Linked DNA regions of Homo sapiens: regions 1, 2, 3 and 5 are each linked to region 4. The links are contacts of gene promoters, found by promoter capture Hi-C in blood cells and fetal thymus (Javierre and others, 2016). All regions are on one chromosome and are shown on one strand. The core of a region is centred on a gene start or on the middle of the fragment in contact, and the rest is flanking DNA. Distances in the headings are between cores, read along the strand shown.

Region 1 (4,228 bases), core at 1,003-3,502, 450 kb after region 4:
GCAATACACTATTAAGAAATGGGGTTGGGCACAGTGGCTCAGGCCTGTAATCCCAGTACTTTGGGAAGCTGAGACAGGAGGATCGCTTGAGACTGGGTCTTCAAGACCAGCCTGGGCAATATAGCAAGACCTTGTCTCTGCAAGAAAAGAAAAATAGAAAATTAGCTGGACTCCTGCTTGAGCCCAGGAGTTGAGGCTGCAGCGAATCATGATCCTGCCACTGCACTCCAGTCTGGGCAACACAGTGAGAGCTTGTCAAAAAAAAAAAAAAAAAAAAAAAAGAAAAAGAAAAAGCAAGAGAAGGAAGGAAGGAACAAAGGAAGGAAAGAAAAGGTCAGAAAACCAATAACACCTTAAAACTGTACACGTACAGTATAAATGGATTAGCTCTGTAGGTCTATATAATCTGCAATATTGCCTAAGATTTCTATAAAAGAACCGGTTATACAGATATACCACTTATTTAAATTATAACTCAATGTAGTTGCATATATCTATGTTTAGATTTACATATTTTTAAATAATGGATAGGCGATAATTACTTATTTCACTTATAGGACAATTGTTAATTAGTTCTAATTAACTATCTTAGAACTATCTTAATTAACTATCTTAATTCAACTGAAATTTAGATAGTTCCATTTAATTTAGTTTTTTGTTAAAACAGAAATACAAATTATTGAATTAATTAATATGCCATGCTTGCATTTTTATTTCATGCTGTGGAAAAAACAGCAAAAAAAGGTAGACATAATTTAACCCCAAATTCACAAAATAATTTAATTTATTACATGGTTTCTTTTTATTAGGAGTGTAAGTAAAACTTAATTAAAATTAAGTTCTCTTATCGTTTTACCAAATTATACTAAAACTTTCTACAGCTTGGTACAAAAAAGCTTCTTTTAGCCTTTTAAAATTGTAACTAAATTGTAAATTTAAATTTATAACTCAAATTGTAATAAATCTATCATTTTTACCTTTATACAAAGCAAAGAAATTGAGGCCTGGAGTCTCTTGCATTTCTTTGTAATCGAATTTAGATTGATTTTTTTCCTCCTTGGAAGTCTTTGATATCCCCCCAGGAGATTTGCAGTAAGCTGATGTCCACTTGTGCTGACAACCTTTCGCCATTTGAAAAGCAATTCCTAGCTTGCTTCTGAGAGCTGGTAGAAATTGAATGTCTGCCTCGGGACACCAAATTATCATGCAACGCAAACTGTCCATCATGAACTGGGTGTTTTCTGAACCACCAAATATAAAACTGAATTACCTAACAGGAATTCATTATAAAACAGAAGTGGAATATACAAAAATGGGTCTGAACAGGTCCAGAATACACAAGTATGCTGCATAAGCAGGGGACTTTGTAATTCCAGCTACTCTTCCACCTCTCCCTTGCTCTACACCGACGGCCTCATGAGGAATTCCCTATGAACAGTTAATGGAGGAAGAAAGAGCATGGGCCTGGATTTGCATGCTATGTCAGCCCCAGATGAATGAGAATGGCCTCTCCACTACAGTGAACCTCACTCAGTAGAGGCTTCAAAGTCAGTAATGAAAGAAAATCTCTCCAGCAGGCAGAACTTGAAGCAGCATATCTAGTTGTACACTTTGTTTGGAAGGAGAGATTGCCTGAGGTACATATCTACATTGAATCATGGGCAGCATGTTAACAGGTTGACCACCTTGTCAGTCACTTAAATGAAAAACAATATTGGAAAAGCAGTAAAAAGGAAGTCTGGGAAAGAACTACATAAAGTGGTCACAGTATTAAGATATTTGTGTCTCAAGTAAACGCTCTTTAAAATACTAGGGTTTCCTAATCCCAGGGTTCCTCAACCATGACATAAACTTACTGTATGCAGAGCATCCAGATTGGCTGCTCCGTATCACCCAGTGGAACTTAGAGGCAAGGAGAACTAATGCAAATATGAAGTTCATGCTACCTGCTGGGCCAAGTGTAATAAAGTCCTTTGTCTCTGACCCAGGAGTCTCATGTTTTTTGTCAGTACCCATGAAACTAACAGACAAACTTATTAGTTTAGAAGTGGCATAAAATCTCAGGCTTTTCATAGTTGTTGGAAGTTCTGGCAATGAGGACGAGATGCTGACAGAGATAGGGCTTTCGGGAAGAGGAAAGTACAATGGCCCTTTTGCAGGCCTGTTTGGAAGATCTGAGAGACTCCTGGGGATCCAGTAGTGACTGTTCTCATCCAAGTAGTGAGTGAGAGGTGGAGAATGAGGATACCCACTGTTCTACCTGTTAATGGGGCTGAGGGGTATTAGTTTGGATTGAAGCAAGCTGTCCAAATGGTATTTGTTCTTTCTCCTCTGGGCAGAAGGAGGGAGGGCTATTATTATGATGAAACAGTAAGCCCCATGGCACAAGCCAACAAGCAATAAGGCAGTGGCCACTAGTTAAGGGGTCCCCACAGCTAAAATAAATGGTGTTGGTAGTGAGGATATAGATGTTTGGGTAGACCACAAACAGAATTTGTTTACGTGAACCTGGATCACCACCAGTCACTTGAAACTGAAAGTAAGCGCAGATTGCTTACTGACACAGATCCGTACTCAAGAGCCTGGTAAAATCATTGCTCTCTGCCCCACAGACAAACATTATCTTTATCTCCCTAGGCTACTAATTTCTATAGTAAGTGTGAAATATCTCTTAGATGTCTTTGTGAAGATGTCAAATAAGCACTTAGATTTATAAGTCTAGAATTCTGGGGAGAAGTCAGGGCAAGAAATAGAGATTTGGGAGTACTTGGTATATAACTAACATTTATTGGGTACTTACTACATGCCAGGCATATCTAAGTAGTTTATGAATATTTTCTGAGTTACACTCCCAACATCCCTGTGAGGTTGGCACTGTGTTATTGTCTTCATTTTAAAGATAAAGAAACAGAAAATTTCCTCAAGGCCACATAGCTACTGGGAGCAAAACCAGAAGAAAAACCCAGGCAGGTTGACCCCAGAGCCCATGTTCATTACTACTATGCTGTGCTATCTGGTACACAGACGGTATTTAAAGCCTTGGGATGAGATGAGGATACCCATGGGTAGTATGTAGAAAAGAGAAAAGGGGACTGAAGTACTGCAACATTTAATGATGTCCTTCAGAATTTCCAATTCCTCCTGTCTGGTTCTGTATTTAATAGACAAATGCTAATTTATCAATTTGAACTGTCCCATCAGGAATATACCTGTACAAATGACCAACTCCAGTTCCCAAACTAGATCTATCAGTTGTTATAAATTGATAAATTAACATTCTTATTTATAATTGCTCTTTTATATGTATGGCTGGTTTTATTCCATTTCCAGAATGTTATTTCCCTTTGATTACTTAATGAAGACAGAATGTCTGGACCAGTAATGACCTCCTAAGATACTGACACTCTGTGAGGTACTATCTGAGGCAAACAGGACTTCTTGGACATCTCTTTGACCACAATATGGCACCATACCAGGAATCTGAGGAAGCAGAGGTTCCACATGGTTTGCTGAAAATTCAAGGGGAAAACAACATCTGAACTGAAAATGCTTAACTCAGAGCTCTCCTCAAATAGTAAATACTATTTCAGAAACGGTTGGTAAGCTTTGGCAAGACGCTGCCCTCAGAAAGAACCATGGCAGCTGAGAAATAGCAAGTACCAGGTATGGGTTCTGTGGTATAAACATGAGGGGCTCCACAAAGGTCCTCTTCTCTTTAGTGTCGAGCAATTATGTGTACATATACACAGCGTACATTAGATGTTCCAATTCTTCTCCCTGTCTTTGATTTTATTCTTAAAACAAAAGATTCATTTGTAACTTTTATTTCAGTTGCCATCAGAGTCTTAGTAAAATAGCAGTCCCTTAGTTGTTCAGAAATTCATTTTTATTTTTAATTATATGGCTACGTAATAGTTGTATATATTTACAGAGCACATATGATGTTTTGATACAGACATATAGTATGTAATGATCAAATCAGGGTAATTGGGGTATCCATCATCTCAAGCATTTATTTATCATTTATTTGTGTTAAGAACATTCCAATTCCCCTATTTTAGTTATTTTTAAATATACAATAAATTGTTGTTAACTACAGTCACCTTATTGTGCTACCAAATACTACAACTTATTCATTCTATTTAACTGTACTGTTATATCCATTAACCACTCCCTGTTTATCCCCCTGTACCTACTATTCTCCCCAGCTTCTGGTAAACATCATTCT
Region 2 (4,273 bases), core at 1,661-4,160, 490 kb after region 4:
CACGGACCCGACTACACAAAATCCAATGGAATCTGGGACGTGGGAAGATTGATTTTTTTTTTCCCCCTAGGGGTCCGAGAAGGGAGGGTCATCCCTGATTTTAATTAGTGGCGAGAGGCGCACGCCTCTTCCCATGCATACGGGGATTTCCCTGACACCATCACCACCATATCCCCTCCTTCCAAAAATAATTTAATTACTTGGAGTTCTAGCTGCGAGCAGCGACCGCCCCAGTCAGTCTGGGACGCTCCCTCATTAACACATTTTTCCTCCCCTCTGGTTTGAGTGTTGGGATTAATTACAAAGGGAACCCTGCCTTAGGGAAGAAGGGGAGGAGGAAAAGACGCGGGCGCCTGGGAGTTTGAATGGCAGAGGAGAGGGGGCCTTCTCCCAGGAAACCTCCAAGAGGAAAAATGCCTTGGCCAGTTGGGTCCCCAACCCCAAGCAGGCAGATTGTCCATCCCAGGAGTTTCAGATACTTTAGAGTTGAAGGTGCCACACAGGGATTGTAGGATCTCACAAAATATCCTACACGTTTGGGGCATTTGTGCCTCCCAGTATGCCAAGAAACCAGTTAGGGTTCTTTTACATGTGACCCTACAAGAGTGAACCCACACCGTAAAAGCCTGGGCTGTGGGAAGTCCATGTTCCCCTTGGAGTAAGTGAAAGCAGTATTCAATTATCATTAATGTTATTGCCGTGCAACCCGCCACTTAGAGTAGTATCATTTCAAAAGCATCTTCACATACTTCTCCCTAAGCAGGCCAAGGCCTTTTCAATATCTCAGCCTCCTTCAGTTTCCAATCCTGGCACCTGCTTGAACAACCCTGTGATTAAGGAATCCCAGAGAAAGAGACTCCCAGCCTCTGTTCCTCACTTGTTTGGGAATTTTTGCTCCTCCCTGATGAAAACTATTTCCTGAGACCTAATCTCACCCCTTTTGATGGTTCATTCTAACCTGTCCAAAGATGAGGACAGAACCAACTATGCTGCATTGTTCAAAGATGCAGAACAGTAAAACACACTTCCTTTCTCCTTTGCCCAAACTCTGTCTTTCCTCATCCCCTCCTCCAGTAGTATGGGTAAGCAGGTGACTCAGCATCAAGACTACATGAAATATGCAGAATCATCATTTCAGGTACCCAAGTCCCTGCATGCGTCCAGGCACTCATTCACCTTGTGCCTATCATGTGCAGGCACTGGGCCGCACTGGGGCTCCTGGCAGTGACCACGACCAGGTGTATGAGGGAGTGGCAGGAGAGCTGGGGAAGGGTTAAGGGAAGTAGGGAGGACATGGGTGTCCCCAGCCCTGCCCCAAAGCACACCCCAGTGCTAGGCAGCTAGTGTGTAATTTGACACAGAGTCGGGGCTGCCGTGGCACTGTCTTGACTCTCAGGCAGATTTAGTGTGAATTATCTTCACATGCTGCTAGCCTGTTTCACAGACCCCAAAATGGCCCAAAGAACTGGAAAAAGGGCTTCTGATGCCAGAATTACAGATAATTCCATAGTCTGGCCCCACTGAAAGCTTGAAACCTAAGTCAGGATGTTAACAGACAAGGCTTCCCAATTAACAGGTATCAGGCATCAGGCTAGAATAAGCTTAGTCCCTCCTTTCTCTGACGGTGAGGTTGGGGGCTTTCAATTACATCTCTGCAATGAAAACACTGGATTACAGAGTCCAACAAAAAATTTTATTGGTGTGGTCTGTCCCATTCAGCAATTCTCTGTATTACCTTCTACCTTCACCTCAGGATAGAATCCCATCTGGATTTCACACGTCCCCAAGTCACTGAGTAAGCAAACAGAGACCCAGCTAGAAGGCCCATGTGCCCTATGGTCTAAGGGACCTAGCTTAATTCTTTAGAAGGAAGGAGAGCACTGAAATGACATTCAACTGAGATTTTCCTAAAGGGGCCAACCTACAATAACAGAGGGAGGCCAAGAGCCTGAGGGACAATAGAATGGAACAGATTGGATTTTGTACAGCTCCTGTCCTTGAGGACATAGTCGAATTTCTTAATTTCTTCAAGCCTCAATTTCTGCTTATATAAAAAGGGTCTAATGAGGTAACAGAAGGAACACCCTCCATATACTCATAGTGCCACAGTCAATTCCCAGTCGAGTTTCCCCTCTCTGTTCTGTGCCTAGGATACTTCTCTTAGGAGAGAACACTTCTCTAGGACACTTCTTTCAGTACTCTTCCTCGGGGAAGGAGGCCCCTAGCTAAAAGCCAGGGCCCTCCATTAAAGCCCTTTCAACACCTCACCAGCTCACTAGGTGGAGGTGGGGCTGGTGGGGTCAGATCAGAGGCTTCCCAGGAGCCCTGGGAGTTGGACCCTCCTGGGGAAGATTCAAGGAACTCAAGAAGTGACAGTAGACTCTCTCTGAGGGAAGGTCCAGACTATAGAGAAGCACCTACCTACTTCCTGTGTGGATGAAGCTGTCCCTGGAGGTCAGGCCCAGACCACAGTAGCAAAAGTTAGGTTTTCTGCTCTGATGAAAAGTAGGGCCTTTTTACAATGCTGCTCAGAGAAAGGGAATCCTTGGTACCTTACTCATAGAAGCTTCACACTATAGCAGAATGGCCATCAAAGTGTTTCCATGTAAGCAATTAGCAATTTTAGCCACCTCCCAGGTACAGGTGACTGCAGTAATGTACCCACATGCAGGGCCACAATCACCATCTACTTCCAGCCCTGCTGATGAGCCTGGGTACAAGTTGATCTCCCGGAATAGTTACAGATCTTTCCCCAGCACCCACCTTCCCAGAAAGGCTACTCTCAATGCTCACAAAAGGATTTCCAGACCCAGTCTATATTGGGAAATACCTGGGTTCTGGGTGTGAGGGGTTTCCCCCTTCACTTTTAGTTAAAAAAAAAAAAAAAAAAGAATAAAAGTAGCTCACACACAAAAAAACTTAACTGGTCAAGAACTGTATTATGTCATAGGCTTGTGGTGAAGTGTCTGTCATGTGAGATCCTGATCTCTAAGAAGAAGGACCATGCCTCATTCATTTCTATATCTCTGGCACATAAAATTCAATAAGTTAGCATTAGCTGCCTTCCCTTCTAGCTTCCTTCTCTTTCTCCCTTCCTCATCTATGAAACCTTGACCACTCCCTATTCATCCAACCTTTATTAAGTGTGAGTTTCCTCAAATCCAATCCCATTATCATTAATCTAAAATGTTACCTGCAATTAAACCAGTGGTTGTGAACTTTGACTGCAGATTTTAATCACCTGGGAAGCTTTGAAAACACATCAATGCCCAGGACCATCCCAGACTAATTAAACCAGAAACTTCTGAGGTGTGACCCAGCTATTGGCATTTTTTTTAAGATACCTCAGTGATTTTAATGTGAGAACCACTGAATGAAACTTTCTGATTTCCTTCCTCCTTCTTGGGAAGAATAGACACTCTCCAGCTCCCTTGGCTGGGACTAGGCCCTGCAGGTGTGCGTTATATCCTGTCCTTTCCCACCTCCATCCATTATTCACAATCTCTCCTGTAACCAACTTCGGCCTCTTCACTGATCTTTGCCCAGCAGACATAATAAAATGAAATACCTTCCTCCACTCAGCAGCCTCCTCTTGCTTTAGCCTTCGCTTTTATTTCTTTCTCATCCAACCTTCTTAAAAGAGTAGATTCTTAGGCCAGGCCTGGTGGCTCACACCTGTAATCCCAGCACTTTGGGAGGCTGAGGCGGGTGGATCACCTGAGGTCGAGAATTAGAGACCAGCCTGACCAACATGGAGAAACCCCGTCTCTACTGAAAATACAAAATTAGCCGGTCATGGTGGCAGGTGCTTGTAATCCCAGCTACTCGGGAGGCTGAGGCAGGAGAATCGCTTGAACCCAGGAGGAGGAGGTTGCGGTGAGCCGAGTTCGTGCCATTGCACGCCAGCCTGGGCAACAAGAGTGAAACTCCATCTCAAAAAAAAAAAAAAAAAAAAAAAATGGATAGATTCTTTACTATCTCTCTTCCTCCCTTCACTCCTCAGCTCCTTGCACCCCAGCCATCCTTCCAATGTGTTTTCTACTCCTGACTTCAAATACTATTATTTCCCAGAATTCAGCCTTTGGCCCCCTTACTCCCCACTCCACATGCTTTTCCAAAGCAATGTCATTCACTCCTGTGGCTTCAGTCAGTACTCACTTATGAGTGCTGCTAAATCCAGGTCTATCTTGTGAGCATAAGACTCAAATTTTCAACTTCCTACCATACATTTTAACTTGGATATTCCTTGGGTATCTTAAATGTAATAGGTTTA
Region 3 (4,720 bases), core at 1,946-4,445, 400 kb after region 4:
ATGTCATTTCTTTTTTCTCTTTTCAGATGTTAAAATTCAATATACAGATACCAAAATGATTCTGTTTATGGTTTCTGGGATATGCATAGTCTTCGGTTTCATCATACTGCTGTTACTTGTTTTGAGGAAAAGAAGAGGCAGGTTTCCTTTCTTCCTACTTGTCTCTTCTCCAAGGTTCCAGTGATTGAGAGTTTGGGGCCTCTGATTCCCAAGGATCTCTTGTGGAAGACAGGAGGAGGGAGGGAGGCTGCAAACCCTGGCTCAGCTAGTCCACTGAGATAATCCCTGGGTGTGATCTTGCACCTGCTAATATCCTGAGAGAAATGTCCTACTGGGAAAAGTGGGACCCTGTCTCAGGGCTGCTTGCCCTTCCTTTTGGGTCCCCTCCCACCACATCCCAACACTCACGGGGTTAGGGGTGAAATGCCTCTCCCACTGCTGTCACACATTTCAATTTTCTGGTTTTATTTTTCAGATTCCCTATCTTTGTCTACTCAGCGAACACAGGGCCCCGGTGAGCATTCAGACTCTTAACTCTCCATCATAAAGCAGATGGGAAGAGCCAAATGGAAGAGAGAGGGGGATGGCAGAGGGCTGGATAATGACAGAGGAAGGAGTCAGAATGTCATTACTCAGACCACATGCTGTGAGGGGAGATGATCTGTAATCATGGGTCCTACATGGTTCACAGGCATAGGCATGTGAACCAGTCACTCACACAGTTTCTCTTGGTGATATCAGGTTCATTCACCACCCTGCTGATGGAGAAACTAAGTCCCAGTGAAAGGGATCATCCCTTGTCACCCAGCAAGTCCAGGGCACAGGCAGGATTAGAGCATCCAAGGCACAAAACCAAACTGTCTGACTGCATCATTACTGTTCAGCCAGGGTCTGGGCAATGGATAGACACAGTGGAAAGAGAAAACATGATATAGAAACACAAACACAGGCTCTGGACTCAGATTGGCTTTGGGTCTCATTTCATGCATGAGTGATGCATGACATCACTTGCAGAGGAAAAGGCATAAGGTTTGAAGTCAGAAGACGTGCATTTGAGTTGCTGTTTCATCACTGTCTGTATGGCTTTGCACAAGTCAGTTAAGTTTTCTGAGCCTCCAGTTCCTCATCTCCAAAATAATCAAATCCGCTGTAGAGACCTCTGAAAAGCTTAATAATATCCCAAATGTGAAATAACTGGCTCCATTATGTTTGCCAATGAGGTGTCTTTAGCCCTTCCATAGGCAGGGCTATTTGGTCCCAGGAGCTTCCTGACCCACATGTGAAGCCTGAGGGAGACTCTGAAGCTTTAGGGGACCTCAACACCACCTTCTACCCCAAGAGATGTGGTCAGAAATAGACCACATGACTGAGAAGGTTCACCCAGAGCTCCAAAGACTGTCAAGAACGAATGATCCCTCAGGAAAGGAGATGCTTCAAACACCTGCCTATCTGGGGACACAGTGTGCTCTGGGGAGGGAGAAGTCCTGGGAGAGAAGTCCCAGAGTCCTTGTGCCATTGACTGTGCCTTCCTATGTTAACAGCAGAGTCCGCAAGGAACCTAGAGTATGTTTCAGTGTCTCCAACGAACAACACTGTGTATGCTTCAGTCACTCATTCAAACAGGGTGAGTCTTTTCAGCTTTATATGCCATTGTTGTCAGTTTTACAGCCATTGTTCACAAACTTGTCACCATAACCATCTGACTGAACAAATGACCACTGAGGGGAGGAGAAGACAGCCACAGCGACAGGGGCTGCAAAGTTATGCGCTAGACCACTCTGGTGTCTGCCTTTCTCACCCTTAAGGGAATGTTTATTCATACCCTGCCTTACACAGTTCTCCAACCGCTTGATGCATCAGTAAGTCTTGTCCCTTCAGCTTAATTACAAGCTGACTGAAAGTACAAATTATGTCTTCCTCTCTCTTGCCCTATATCCTAGCATAATGATCAGTAAATACTTGCTGAATGGGTCAGAGTTCCACTAAGTTTGAAAGTTTCCTATGGACGTAGTTCCATAGCAGGTGGCTGACTTCTCACTCTGCATGTAGGGGTCTTAGGGGAGTTCAGAAGTAGTCTCTCAAGAGGGGAAGGGGGCACAGTAGAGGCCACTAAACCATGAGCAATGGTTCACCCCTCCCCTCTCATCTAGCAGCATAACAGGATGGCTGGTCAAGCATCAGCAACTCATCTGTCATGTATCAGCAACTCCCCACCACCCCTAAATAAAGGACCTGCAGGTGGCACATCTCTAAATAATACCATACATTTTGAGAGGCCAGTTTTCTGAAAAATAAGCCAGGAAAGCTTAGCATTTTCAAAATGATGTAAGCAATGATCTAGCTAGAAATCTTGGATTCCCTTCACCTATATTTGCAAAGTATGATCCTTGATGACAGGAAGCAAGAAGGGGTACTCTCACTTGCTCAGACATTTCTTTTGCCTTTGCAAATTCCTCCTGAAAACAAGTCAACTCACACTCTGACAAATCAAAAAACTAATTTCCCACAAATTGGTTAGCTTTCTCTTTAGCAAAAAGAAAAAAAAAATGTGCTTTGGAGAGTTTGAGGTTTTTTTGTTTTTTGTTGGTTTGTTTTTTGTTTTTTGGTTTTTTTTTTTTTTTGAGACAGAGTGTCACTCTGTCACCAAGGGCTGAGTGCAGTAGCACAATCACAGCTCACTGCAGCCTCAACCTCCTCATGCTCAGGTGATCCTTTTACCTTGGCCTCCCAAGTAGCTGCGACTACAGGCGAGCACCATCACATCAGGATAATTTTTCTACTTTTTGTAGAGACGGGGTTTCACCATGTTGCCCAGGCTGGTCTCAAACTTCTGCGCTCAAGTGATCCGCCTGCCTCGTCCTCCCAAAGTGTTGGGTTTACAGGCATGAGCCACTGTGCCCAGTAGAGATCTTGATAATTCTCTAAATACTTCTTCATTAATTTAAAGTGTCAAAATCTTTGAGTAGGTTCTTTGAGGGCCGTAGGGACTTCTGCTATTATTTCTGTAATGTGCATTCCAGGCAGAGCCATTCTTAAGGCCAAGTGTTCCTATTCTACCAATTCCCCATGCTTGAGAAGACCCCAATGACATGATGACAAGGCAGTTAGAATTATAGCAAAAGATGGAGCAGGCAAAATGGGTAGTTTCAGTCATAGCTAGTAAAAATTTGAGACAAAACATATAATAAACTATCTGGTATATAAGTTTTTTCTTAAAAATGGAGGAAGGAAAGTAGAGCTGGACAAAGGACAAGAATACTTCCTTCCCTTCATACAGCAAGGCTGCCTTTCTCTGGCTCTTGAGCCCATTGGTTTGCTGCAGTGTTGCTGTTCTGTTTGGGGCTCAGGAAATGCCACTAAATCCTCACAAGTTTGATAGCTAGTCGTGCTTGGTCTTCCACTGAACATTCCCCAGCCTTCCTCTGGAAGAACTTTGACATATTCTCTTTTTTGTCACACAGTCTTTCCTAAGAATATATCTATGCATTAATCTCTTTGTCTCTGTGTAAGCCAAATTGGTATGATTCTTTTTACAGGAAACAGAAATCTGGACACCTAGAGAAAATGATACTATCACAATTTACTCCACAATTAATCATTCCAAAGAGGTAAGCCCACGATTGCTCCATGTTTTTATATTCTTACCTCTCTCCACAGACCTATGATTTTTCAAATAAAGTAAAAATAAAAGGGTCATTTTACAGATGCACAAACAGCAGCAGCATGCGGAAAGTCTCAGGACATCACCAAAACATAATCAAGAAGTTATTTTGTATTAGGATCACCATGCATAACTGAGTTTTCAATTACATGTTTTTAAATTTAATCCTGCCCTATGCTATCAATATCTCTATTATCTGCCTCTCTGTAGTCTCCAGTCCTCTCTCTGTAGTTATGAGGGGTGGGCTGAGGTTCCAGTTCCAATTAACCTACCTCATCTTCCTCTTTTTCCCACAGAGTAAACCCACTTTTTCCAGGGCAACTGCCCTTGACAATGTCGTGTAAGTTGCTGAAAGGCCTCAGAGGAATTCGGGAATGACACGTCTTCTGATCCCATGAGACAGAACAAAGAACAGGAAGCTTGGTTCCTGTTGTTCCTGGCAACAGAATTTGAATATCTAGGATAGGATGATCACCTCCAGTCCTTCGGACTTAAACCTGCCTACCTGAGTCAAACACCTAAGGATAACATCATTTCCAGCATGTGGTTCAAATAATATTTTCCAATCCACTTCAGGCCAAAACATGCTAAAGATAACACACCAGCACATTGACTCTCTCTTTGATAACTAAGCAAATGGAATTATGGTTGACAGAGAGTTTATGATCCAGAAGACAACCACTTCTCTCCTTTTAGAAAGCAGCAGGATTGACTTATTGAGAAATAATGCAGTGTGTTGGTTACATGTGTAGTCTCTGGAGTTGGATGGGCCCATCCTGATACAAGTTGAGCATCCCTTGTCTGAAATGCTTGGGATTAGAAATGTTTCAGATTTCAATTTTTTTTCAGATTTTGGAATATTTGCATTATATTTAGCGGTTGAGTATCCAAATCCAAAAATCCAAAATTCAAAATGCTCCAATAAGCATTTCCCTTGAGTTTCATTGATGTCGATGCAGTGCTCAAAATCTCAGATTTTGGAGCATTTTGGATATTGGATTTTTGGATTTGGGATGCTCAACTTGTACAATGTTTATTAGACACATCTCCTGGGACATA
Region 4 (4,515 bases), core at 834-3,333:
GTGGGGAACAGATTCAAGAGGAAGTAGGGGTAGAATCAATGGGACGCAATCACTGATTGGATGATGATGGTTAGAAGGGGTAATGTCCTTAAAATGGATGTACTGTTTTCCCAGTCTATTAGATGGCATCATGTACCATTAAGGATGAGATGCATAATGATATTAAAGATGTCAAAATACAAAAAAAGTGTCTTAGAATCAACTAAAGAAAGTAGTATAAGTGTATATTTTCTTTTTTTATTTTTGCAAATATGTTACTGTTTTATTAAGCCATAAAGTTTTCAGGTGGTTAGTTACACACAGTAATGAACAACTGAGGGGATGTTTAATTTTTTTCTCTAGATCTTGGGCCCTTGGTGTTAACTTTATATACATGTATTTACTATTGTGAACTGTAAACTTAGAGACCTCTATTTTTTTTTTTTTTTTTTGAGATGGAATTTCACTCTTGTTGCCCAGGCTGGAGTGCAATGGTGCGATCTCAGCTCACTGCAACCTCTGCCTCCCGGGTTCAAGCAATTCTCCTGCCTCAGCCTCCCGAGTAGCTTGGATTACAGGCGCCTGACACCGTGCCCAGCTAATTTTATATTTTTAGTAGAGACACGGTTTCACCGTGTTGATCAGGCTGGTCTTGAACTCCTGACCTCAAGTGATTGGCCACCCTCGTCCCCTCAAAGTGCTGGGATTACAGGTGTAAGCCGCAGCGCCTGGCTGAGACCTCTATTTCTAAGAGGTTGTTGTTTGTAAATATGAAAGCTGGGTATGTTCATTTTGTTACCTATACTGATGAGTTAATTTAGTTTCTAATACATTTAATTTTATTTAATTAATTATTTTCCAGATACACAGAGCAAATAGCTTCTAATAGATTTTAAATTTACAAAAGTATAACTTTTTTTTGCAGTTTTTCTTCTTGGGTGCTATTTTATTTTCTTCTATCAATATGTGAGTATTTTTTGCAAATCAGTACTTTGAACCAACAAATAGGAAATATTAGCTTAACAAAAAAGATATTCACAATCTTTGTAAGAAAAGGTTGCAGTATTATTAATGCTATAATGACATTATGTATTAAATGTATGATATCACTGGGGAAGAACTGAGTAATTCTATTACAGCTGCAGGGTAGCATTTGAGAACTTCATGACATAGGAGCAGGAATAAGACAGGAGGTTCGAAGCAGCAGAGAGGTTTCGTATTGATTCAGTTTCAAATGAATCCTGTAGTAAATTTTCCCTCGTTTGTGGCAAAATGACAAAATTAAAGACAAAGTAGTGAGTCTTTGTGTGAAACTAAATTATTCAAACTAAAGATTTATATATTTTTTAAAACTTTTCTATTCGTATTTTTTTGTGTGTTTTGTATCTCTTTCCCCTCCATTCCTTTTTACCAATTTATTCAGAAATGATCACTTTCCCATTTTGTTAAAATTTCCTTTTTCTATTTCTATGAATTGATAATTATGGCCAATGATTAATTTCATTTATTTATTTATTTTGAGATACCTAAGCTGAAGTACAGTGGCACGGTCATATTTCACTGAATCCTCTATCTCTGGGACTTAAGTTACCCTTTTGCCTTGCCTCAGCCCCACCTGAAACTATAGGCAAGTACCACCATGCCATGCTAATTTTTTTACTTTTATTTTTAGTAGAGAAGAGGTTGCCCTATGTTGCCCAGGCTGGTCTCAAACTCCTGAGTTCAAGTGATCCTTCTGCCTTGGCCTCCCAAAGTATTGGGATTTGAGCCAATGTGCCAAGCCAACAGATGCTTAATTTAGAGAAAGTTTTTATTTTGCAAGAAAGAAAGGCACAAAAACCCAAAACCAACACCAACTCTTGTTAATCTCTTCGTCTACTTCCTACTTGACACAGGTCCATGAAACCCCCAGATCCAGGAACAACGCTAGCAGGTGATTCTTAGGATTGGTTTTTTCTTTAGAACCTGTTAATTCCACTGTATAAATAACCTCCCCGAGATAACCAGAAGCCTCCCCTGCACTGGGCATTGTGCCAGGGGAGGGTGAGGCTGGAAACCTTGGTTGGCCCCACTGGGCTTCCTCCATAAAGCTTTCTGCACCTCATTCCACATCAGGAGCGTTTTTGGAGAAAGCTGCACTCTGTTGAGCTCCAGGGCGCAGTGGAGGGAGGGAGTGAAGGAGCTCTCTGTACCCAAGGAAAGTGCAGCTGAGACTCAGACAAGGTCTGTGAGTTGGGGGAATCCTGTTTTCAGCTTAGGTCTGCTTTTGGTCTCAGAGATGTGTGAAGTTTAAACAAAAGGCAAGGGGTTTTGGAGTCTTTGTAAGACTGGACAGGGGTGGGGCAGGGATGTAGAGAAAAATGATGGCCAAGATGGTGACCTTCATCTTGCTTTCTTTAGATTACAATGAACCAACTCAGCTTCCTGCTGTTTCTCATAGCGACCACCAGAGGATGGAGTACAGGTGAGTCACGCTGCTAGGGACAGCAGTTCCTTCAGCTGGATGACTTCCGGGATCCTGGTCTCTCCCAGGACACAGAGCATGTCCTTGAGATGCACAGCGGCTGGCTTGCATGTAGACTGAGTGCCGATTTCTGGTCTCTGGCGGAATCTGGCCTGTGGCAGTGAAGGTATTGCTTGAGGCATGTCCTGGGTCCAGGCTCTGTGCTTTTGTGTGGCCCTGAGGGGGCTGTGGCAAGAACTGTGTCACCTTCCAGCCACTGCCCACTCCTGTGGCCTTGGCTGTGGGATTTCCATGGGAACTACATGGTCTGCTTTGTGCCTGGAGAATGTTCTCTCCACAGTTTTCCTCTCTACAACAAGAATAACAATGACATTTTAAAATTTATATTTTTCTTCACGTCTAAAAATTTTTTTTTTAAAGAAAAGGCTGTTTCGAAATATCTTCTTACTTCATCTTTGCAAAAGCACTGTTTATTAACTGTGTTTTAGGTATGAGGAAACTGAGGTCAGTCACCTCTGACCTCACAGCTTTCCCCTAGACTGTTCGAATAGTTTGCAGACTTTTTGGAGTAGAGATTAGTCTCACCACTCCCTACTTCACACCCCATGTTTCAGCCATATTAAGCAGCTTGTAGTTCTACAGCTGGACTACGCTGTATTTTTTTTTTTTTCTCTAGGCCTTTGGATATGCTGTTTTCCCTGCCTTGGATTGGCTTCCTACTGATAAATCATGTTTATTCTCTCAGAATAAGCTAAGATGTCACCTGGACTGGAAGGTCTTCTGTGACTAAGACATGAGACAACCCGTCTTGCCTTCTTCTCCCAGGCAACTGCCCCGCTTACTGTCTGGCGTTTCCATTCTCCACTGTTACCTCAGAGTCTTTCTTTTGTTCTCTTGAGTTTGCCTTTCTTCTACCATTTATTCTTGTCAATACAATTTTCTGTTGACTTGTTAGCAATTCCCTCTAGAGGCAAGCTCTTGCTGGGGAACTTTAATGTCTTTGATTACTCAGTGCTTAGGGCAGGACCCAGCACAAGGACAGGTCTTGTGGCGGGAGGCAGACTTTAAGCCTGTGCTGGCTGTCAGGTCGGATGGGCTGAGTGGATATGATGCCGATGGGCTGAGTGGATGTGACACTGATGGGCTGAGTGGATATGACACTGGCTGTCTCAGGCCTTACCACCCGGGCAGCGAGGTTCTGCTACAGTGGTGGAATGAGCGTGGGACTAGTGATAGGAGAGGGTAGGTTTTGTGTCAAACCGGGAATGAGAATAAACCCTGTGTATTCCCTAGATGAGGCTAATACTTACTTCAAGGAATGGACCTGTTCTTCGTCTCCATCTCTGCCCAGAAGCTGCAAGGAAATCAAAGACGAATGTCCTAGTGCATTTGGTGAGTGATGAAACATTCAAACAGAGCTCAGTCAGGGTATCAGGATTGTGTCTTCTGGGAGTCTTTTTGTCTTTTAGTTAAAAAATTATGGTAAAGTATATGTATATTATAATTTACATAAGATTTGCCATTTTAAGCAACATTAAGTGTGCAATTCAGTGGCATTAATTACCTTCAAGGTTGTGCAACCATCACAGCTATCCATATGCAGAACTTTTTCAGTGCCCCAAACAGAAACTCTGTACTTAATAACATGGAGGGGCCGGGTGCGGTGGCTCAGGCCTGTAATCCCAGCACTTTAGGAGGCTGAGAGGGGTGGATCAGTTGAGGCCAGGAGTTTGAAACCAGCTTGGCTAACATGGTGGGGCCCTGTCTCTACTAAAATACAAAAATCAATTGGGTGTGGAGTACATGTTTGTAATTCCAGCTACTTGGGAGGCTGAGGTGGGAGGATCGCTTGAACTCAGGAGGCAGAGGTTGCAGTGGGCCAAGATAGTGCCACTTCACTCCAGCCTGGGCAACAGAGTGAGACTCCATCTCAAAAACAAAAACAAAAACAAAACAAAACAAAAAATAACATGGAGTTATTAAGCAATAACTCTCTTCCCTCAGTCTCTGGTAGCTGCATTTTACTTTCTATCTCCATGAATTTGCCTAGTGTAGTTACCTCATGTAATTGG
Region 5 (4,491 bases), core at 1,259-3,758, 350 kb after region 4:
TGAAGTATATTACCTTCATAGATTCTATAAAACCCTTGGTTGGAAATGCACTAGAAAATATTGATTTTACCTGCTATGCAGGAGACACAGAAGAGTTAACACAGCAGGGCTAAAACTGCTGTCCTTTGAAGGGCATGCTTATAAGGTTGGCCCTTGGCTGGTGTCTGAGAACTTGGACTTTGGGACGGTTCCTACCATTCCCTGATAAGAATTCCCTGATAAGGTACTTACACTGTACCTAAATTGTTGGCACAACAATTTGTTTTTTGCTGAATATCTGCTTTCTTTCTTGGATTCTGGAATTTTGGTGCATGCTAGGTAGAGGGTGCCTACGTTACTGCCTGCAGAGAAAAACCCTAAATGCCTAGGCTCCATCGAGCTTCTTTGGTAGATTACATTTCAAACATGACACAACATGTTGTTGAAGGAATTACATACATCCTGTTTGACTCCACTATGAGAGGACTCTAGAAGCTTGCACCTGGTTTCCTCTGGACTTTGCCCTTTTGCCTTTGCTGATTTTCTTTGTGTTTATTCACTGTAATAAATCGGCCATGACTATGGCTATATGCTGAGTCTTGTGAGTCCTCCTACTGAATGACTGAATCTGGGGGTGGTCTTGAAAACCCCAACACAACTCCTGAATGTCACTACAATCTATCTACCTCTCTTTCACCACTAACTACAGTAGTCCAGGTTGCCATCATCTCTTACCCAGACAATAGCACTTGACCTCTTGCAGTCGTGCCTGCTCCCAGTCCAATCCATTCTCTACACCACAACCAGAGTGATCTTTCCAAAACACAAATAATGGTTATATTGGCCATGCTAATGTCATCTGGTGGCAGAAAGGACCAATGGATTGCTGTGGTATAAGGCTTTGTATATGTAATAACTTATAAGTTGAAAATTTATAATTAAGCCCTGGCACAGTGGCTCACGCCTGTATTGGGAGGCTGAGGTGGGTGGATTACTTGAGGCCAGGAGTTCAAGACCAGCCTGGTCAACATGGTGAAACCCCGTCTCTACTAAAAGTACAAAAACAAAAAAAAAAAAAAGCCGGGTGTGGTGGCACACACCTGTAGTCCCAGCTACTTGGAAGGCTGAGGCACGAGAATTGCTTGAACCCGGGAGGCAGAGGTTGCAGTGAGCTGAGATGGTGCCACTGCACTCCAGCCTGGGCAACAGAGCAAGACTCTTTCTCAAAAGAAAGAAAAGAAAGAAAAAAAAAAGAAAAGGAAAGGAAAGAAAGAAAGAGAGAGAGAAAGTTAGTTTATAATTAGAAGAAATTCTTTAACCTGAAAAAAAATGGAAAGATATTCAGTGGTCTAATTGCCAAAAGTGTACCAGCCTAGATGGTCTTAAGGGCTAGTCCTATCACCTACAATGAAAGGATAATTCCCAGTCATCTTAACTGTCCCAAGGCATAGAAAACAGTGGGAAGCTTCCAAATTCATTAAATACTATAATATAACACTGATTCCAAAGCCAGATAAGGATGATCCCCCACAAAGAGATACATAGGCCAGGAGTTAGCAAACTATGGCGTGTGGCCACATCCAGTCTGCCATCTGTTTTTATTTGACCCACGAACTAAGAATAGTTTACATTTTTAAAATGGTTGAAAAGAATTCAAAGAATAATAATATTTTGGGACATGTTAAAATTATGTGAAATTCAAATTTCAGCATCCATAAATAAAGTTTTATTGAAACACAGCCAACACGCATTCTTTTATGTGTTTATTATGGCTGCTTCCATACTACACCAGCAGAGTTGAGTAGTTGCAAAGGAGATTGTATGGTCCACAAAGTCCAATATTCACTACTGGGACCTTTACAGAAAAAGTCTGCCACATCCTGATATAGTCCAATCTCACTTATAAATATAAATGTTAAAAATCTTAAACTTCAGTCAATTTTAAAGCAATGCATTAAAAGAAAAAAAAATGCGACCAAGTAGGATTTTATCCTTAGAGTGCCAGGATGATTTATCTTTAAGAAACCATCTATTGTAATTTGCTGTTCAAACAGATTAAAGGAGATGAAAAAAATAATCATCCTGACATAGTCTACAATATATATTTGATAAAACTGAATACCCATGACTGATTTAAAAAGTTTTCAAGAAAGCTAAAAATAGAATGTGTTTTAGTCAATATCCAATTTTAAAAAACTGAGACCATGTTAAATACTGAAAACTCAACAAGCTGAATATAGGGAATTGATTCCAAAAGTGATGGAGGAGTAAAACAGGGAAGCTGAGGTTACCAAGCAATTAATAATTCCAGGAAGTTGCTATGGAACTTTGTCCCTATGGAAATTTGTCTTGGGAATCAGTGCTGCCAGCTTTCAAGATTCTAAGAGTTCACAGTCTCATCAAAACTGTGAGACTCTGGGAGACAAAAATAACTCACCACTGCAGATGCCACCATCAAAGCCTGATCCCACCAGTACCACACTAGCAAGACTTCTGACATGCTTGCTGGAACTGCACTGCTACACCAGGAACCCTGAAGCGGTACTCATCTTCTGCTATCACTGCCACTACTGAAAACATTACCAGAAACCAAGATTATGGAAAAATATATAATTTATTCCTTCCATCCAACTTTAACCAATACCACCCAGTGACAAAATCTAATCAGAAGCCATCTGACAATGGAAATGATAAATGTAGTTTGCAGACTTCTAACCTTCTGAAAAACAAGGAACACAGAAGGGTGGGAATAGAGCTGAGAGCAAATAAGCAAATGACTGGCTCGGGTTAAACTTTTACAACTTGATACAGCATATGTAGCAAACATTTATTGGAAACATTAGAGGCATTCTTAATAAAGAAATGAATACAAGTAACCATTCTTGTATTCAGTGAATACAAGATCACTGCTACTCTTCAACTGTATTGTATTGAAGATCCTTGTTAGTAAAGTGAGTCAAGAAATACATATAAGAGGCTATCTCACATCTAGAATCAGTCATTTTTCTAAGGGGCATTGGTTCTTCAGAGAGAATATTATTTATCCACCAAGATCTTGGATAATGTCACTAATTTTTAGTTACTTAAGAAATATGTGAACACATTTCTATCATCTTTTTAAAAATCAGTGTAAAAGTATAGAGATAGAGAGAGTGATGTCAGCAAAGTGGTGGACTAGGAAATTCCAAACTCTCTCTTTCCCCCAACTTAGAGTAATAAAAAAACAGCCAAACAAACAAAAAAAAACCCAAATGGTTGAATTAACCTTATAGGGACTCTGGAAAACAGTCAGAGTTTTATAACAACCAATCAAATGCCCAATGAAGAAAAAGCCACTTTTGAAATGGTAGGAAAAGTTCCATGGCATTTTTCTTGCCCTTGCCCCATCCCCTCCTCATCCCAACAGAAAGCTTGTTTAGAGGAGGCAGGAGTTCACTTCTCAGTTCCCTCTCTTGAATGGGAGGGAACATAACAGATCTTATTTGCAATATTCTAATCTGTCTTAGGAGTCCATGAAGAACTGGTCTCTATTTCACTTAATTCAGATCTCAAGTGGGAAAGTGCCACTACTATGAACCCAAAGCTATCAAAATAAAGAAAATAATAAAGATTAGACCAGAGATAAAATAGAGAAAATTAATGAACCAAAAAGTTGATTACTTAAAAGGATCAACGAAATTGGCAAATTTAGTTAGAGTGGTTATGGAAAAAAAGACAGAGTGCTCAAATTACTAAAATTGGAAATGAAAATGAGGACACTACAACCAATTTTTCAGAAATGAATAGAAGAGACTACTACAAACAAATTGGATAACATAGATGAAGTAGACACAATTTTTACAAAGACTGAATCATGAAGAAATAGAAAATCTGATTAGACCTATAACTACTAAGAATATTAAGTAAATAATTTTAAAACAACTTCCCAACAAGGAGAAGTCCTGGATCAGAAGGCTTCACTGGTCACCAAAGAGTTTTAAAAGATTTTACACTAATCCTTCTTAAACTCTTCTAAACATTGAAGATAAATATATTAATTCACTCTGTCTTCCATGACAAAATACCACAGACTTGGTAGCTTAAACAATTGAAATTTATTTCTCACAGTTCTGAAGGCTTCGATGTCCAAGATCAAGGTGCCAGCTGATTCAATTGCTGGTGAAACTCTCCCTGGCTTGTAGGTGGCCAACTTCTCAATACGCCCTCATGTGGTAGAGAGAGAGCAAGAACTTTAGTCTCTCCTTTCTTATCAGTATGCTTATCTCATCATGAGGGTCCCACTCACATGACCTCATCCAAACCTAATTATCTCTCAAAGTCCCCATCTCCAAATATCATCACATTGGGGGTTAGAGCTTCAATATATACATTTTGTAGAGGCATAAACACTCAGTCCTTAACAAGAAGAGACCACTTCCTAATTCACTCTGTGACACCAGCACTACCCTGATACGAAAGCCAAACAAAGACACTAAAAGTAAACAAAACTACAAACCAATATTCCTTATAAAT

Evidence for each region. Contacts are between HindIII fragments. The CHiCAGO score rates a contact against its expected background, and 5 or more counts as called.
Region 1: a contact is called between a fragment that was not itself captured here and the fragment with the promoter of ITLN1 in region 4, in 3 of 17 cell types (erythroblasts, M2 macrophages and fetal thymus). The highest score is 6.0, in erythroblasts.
Region 2: a contact is called between a fragment that was not itself captured here and the fragment with the promoter of ITLN1 in region 4, in 2 of 17 cell types (non-activated CD4 T cells and activated CD4 T cells). The highest score is 9.7, in non-activated CD4 T cells.
Region 3: a contact is called between a fragment that was not itself captured here and the fragment with the promoter of ITLN1 in region 4, in 1 of 17 cell types (fetal thymus). The highest score is 5.1, in fetal thymus.
Region 5: the fragment with the promoter of CD84-AS1 here is called in contact with the fragment with the promoter of ITLN1 in region 4 in 16 of 17 cell types (total CD4 T cells, naive CD8 T cells, monocytes and 13 more); the score reaches 18.4 in total CD4 T cells.

What each region holds. Positions count from the first base shown.
Region 1 is chr1:160,436,393-160,440,620 of GRCh38, reverse strand. It overlaps LOC105371467 (a long non-coding RNA gene), which reads left to right and starts at 2,444. Exons shown (of 3, transcript XR_922202.3): 1 at 2,444-2,539; 2 at 3,331-3,663. The HindIII fragment of the contact is 2,708 bases long and covers 899-3,606 here.
Region 2 is chr1:160,395,919-160,400,191 of GRCh38, reverse strand. The region is part of intron 3 of LOC105371466 (a long non-coding RNA gene); the gene reads left to right. Among named protein-coding and RNA genes, the nearest start is that of VANGL2, 2.5 kb to the left of the region's middle. The HindIII fragment of the contact is 683 bases long and covers 2,569-3,251 here.
Region 3 is chr1:160,485,992-160,490,711 of GRCh38, reverse strand. It overlaps SLAMF6 (SLAM family member 6), which reads left to right. Exons shown (of 8, transcript NM_001184714.2): 4 at 27-137; 5 at 476-514; 6 at 1,542-1,624; 7 at 3,537-3,608; 8 at 3,958-4,720. The coding sequence ends at 4,005. Among named protein-coding and RNA genes, the nearest start is that of SLAMF6, 35 kb to the left of the region's middle. RefSeq lists enhancers at 1-334, 1,073-1,132, 1,243-1,372. The HindIII fragment of the contact is 1,775 bases long and covers 2,308-4,082 here.
Region 4 is chr1:160,882,748-160,887,262 of GRCh38, reverse strand. ITLN1 (intelectin 1) reads left to right here and starts at 2,083. Exons shown (of 8, transcript NM_017625.3): 1 at 2,083-2,202; 2 at 2,380-2,443; 3 at 3,737-3,835. The coding sequence starts at 2,386. The HindIII fragment of the contact is 4,692 bases long and covers 2,072-4,515 here.
Region 5 is chr1:160,535,113-160,539,603 of GRCh38, reverse strand. It overlaps CD84-AS1 (CD84 antisense RNA 1), which reads right to left and starts at 2,508. Exons shown (of 2, transcript NR_188634.1): 1 at 2,417-2,508. The HindIII fragment of the contact is 1,945 bases long and covers 1,447-3,391 here.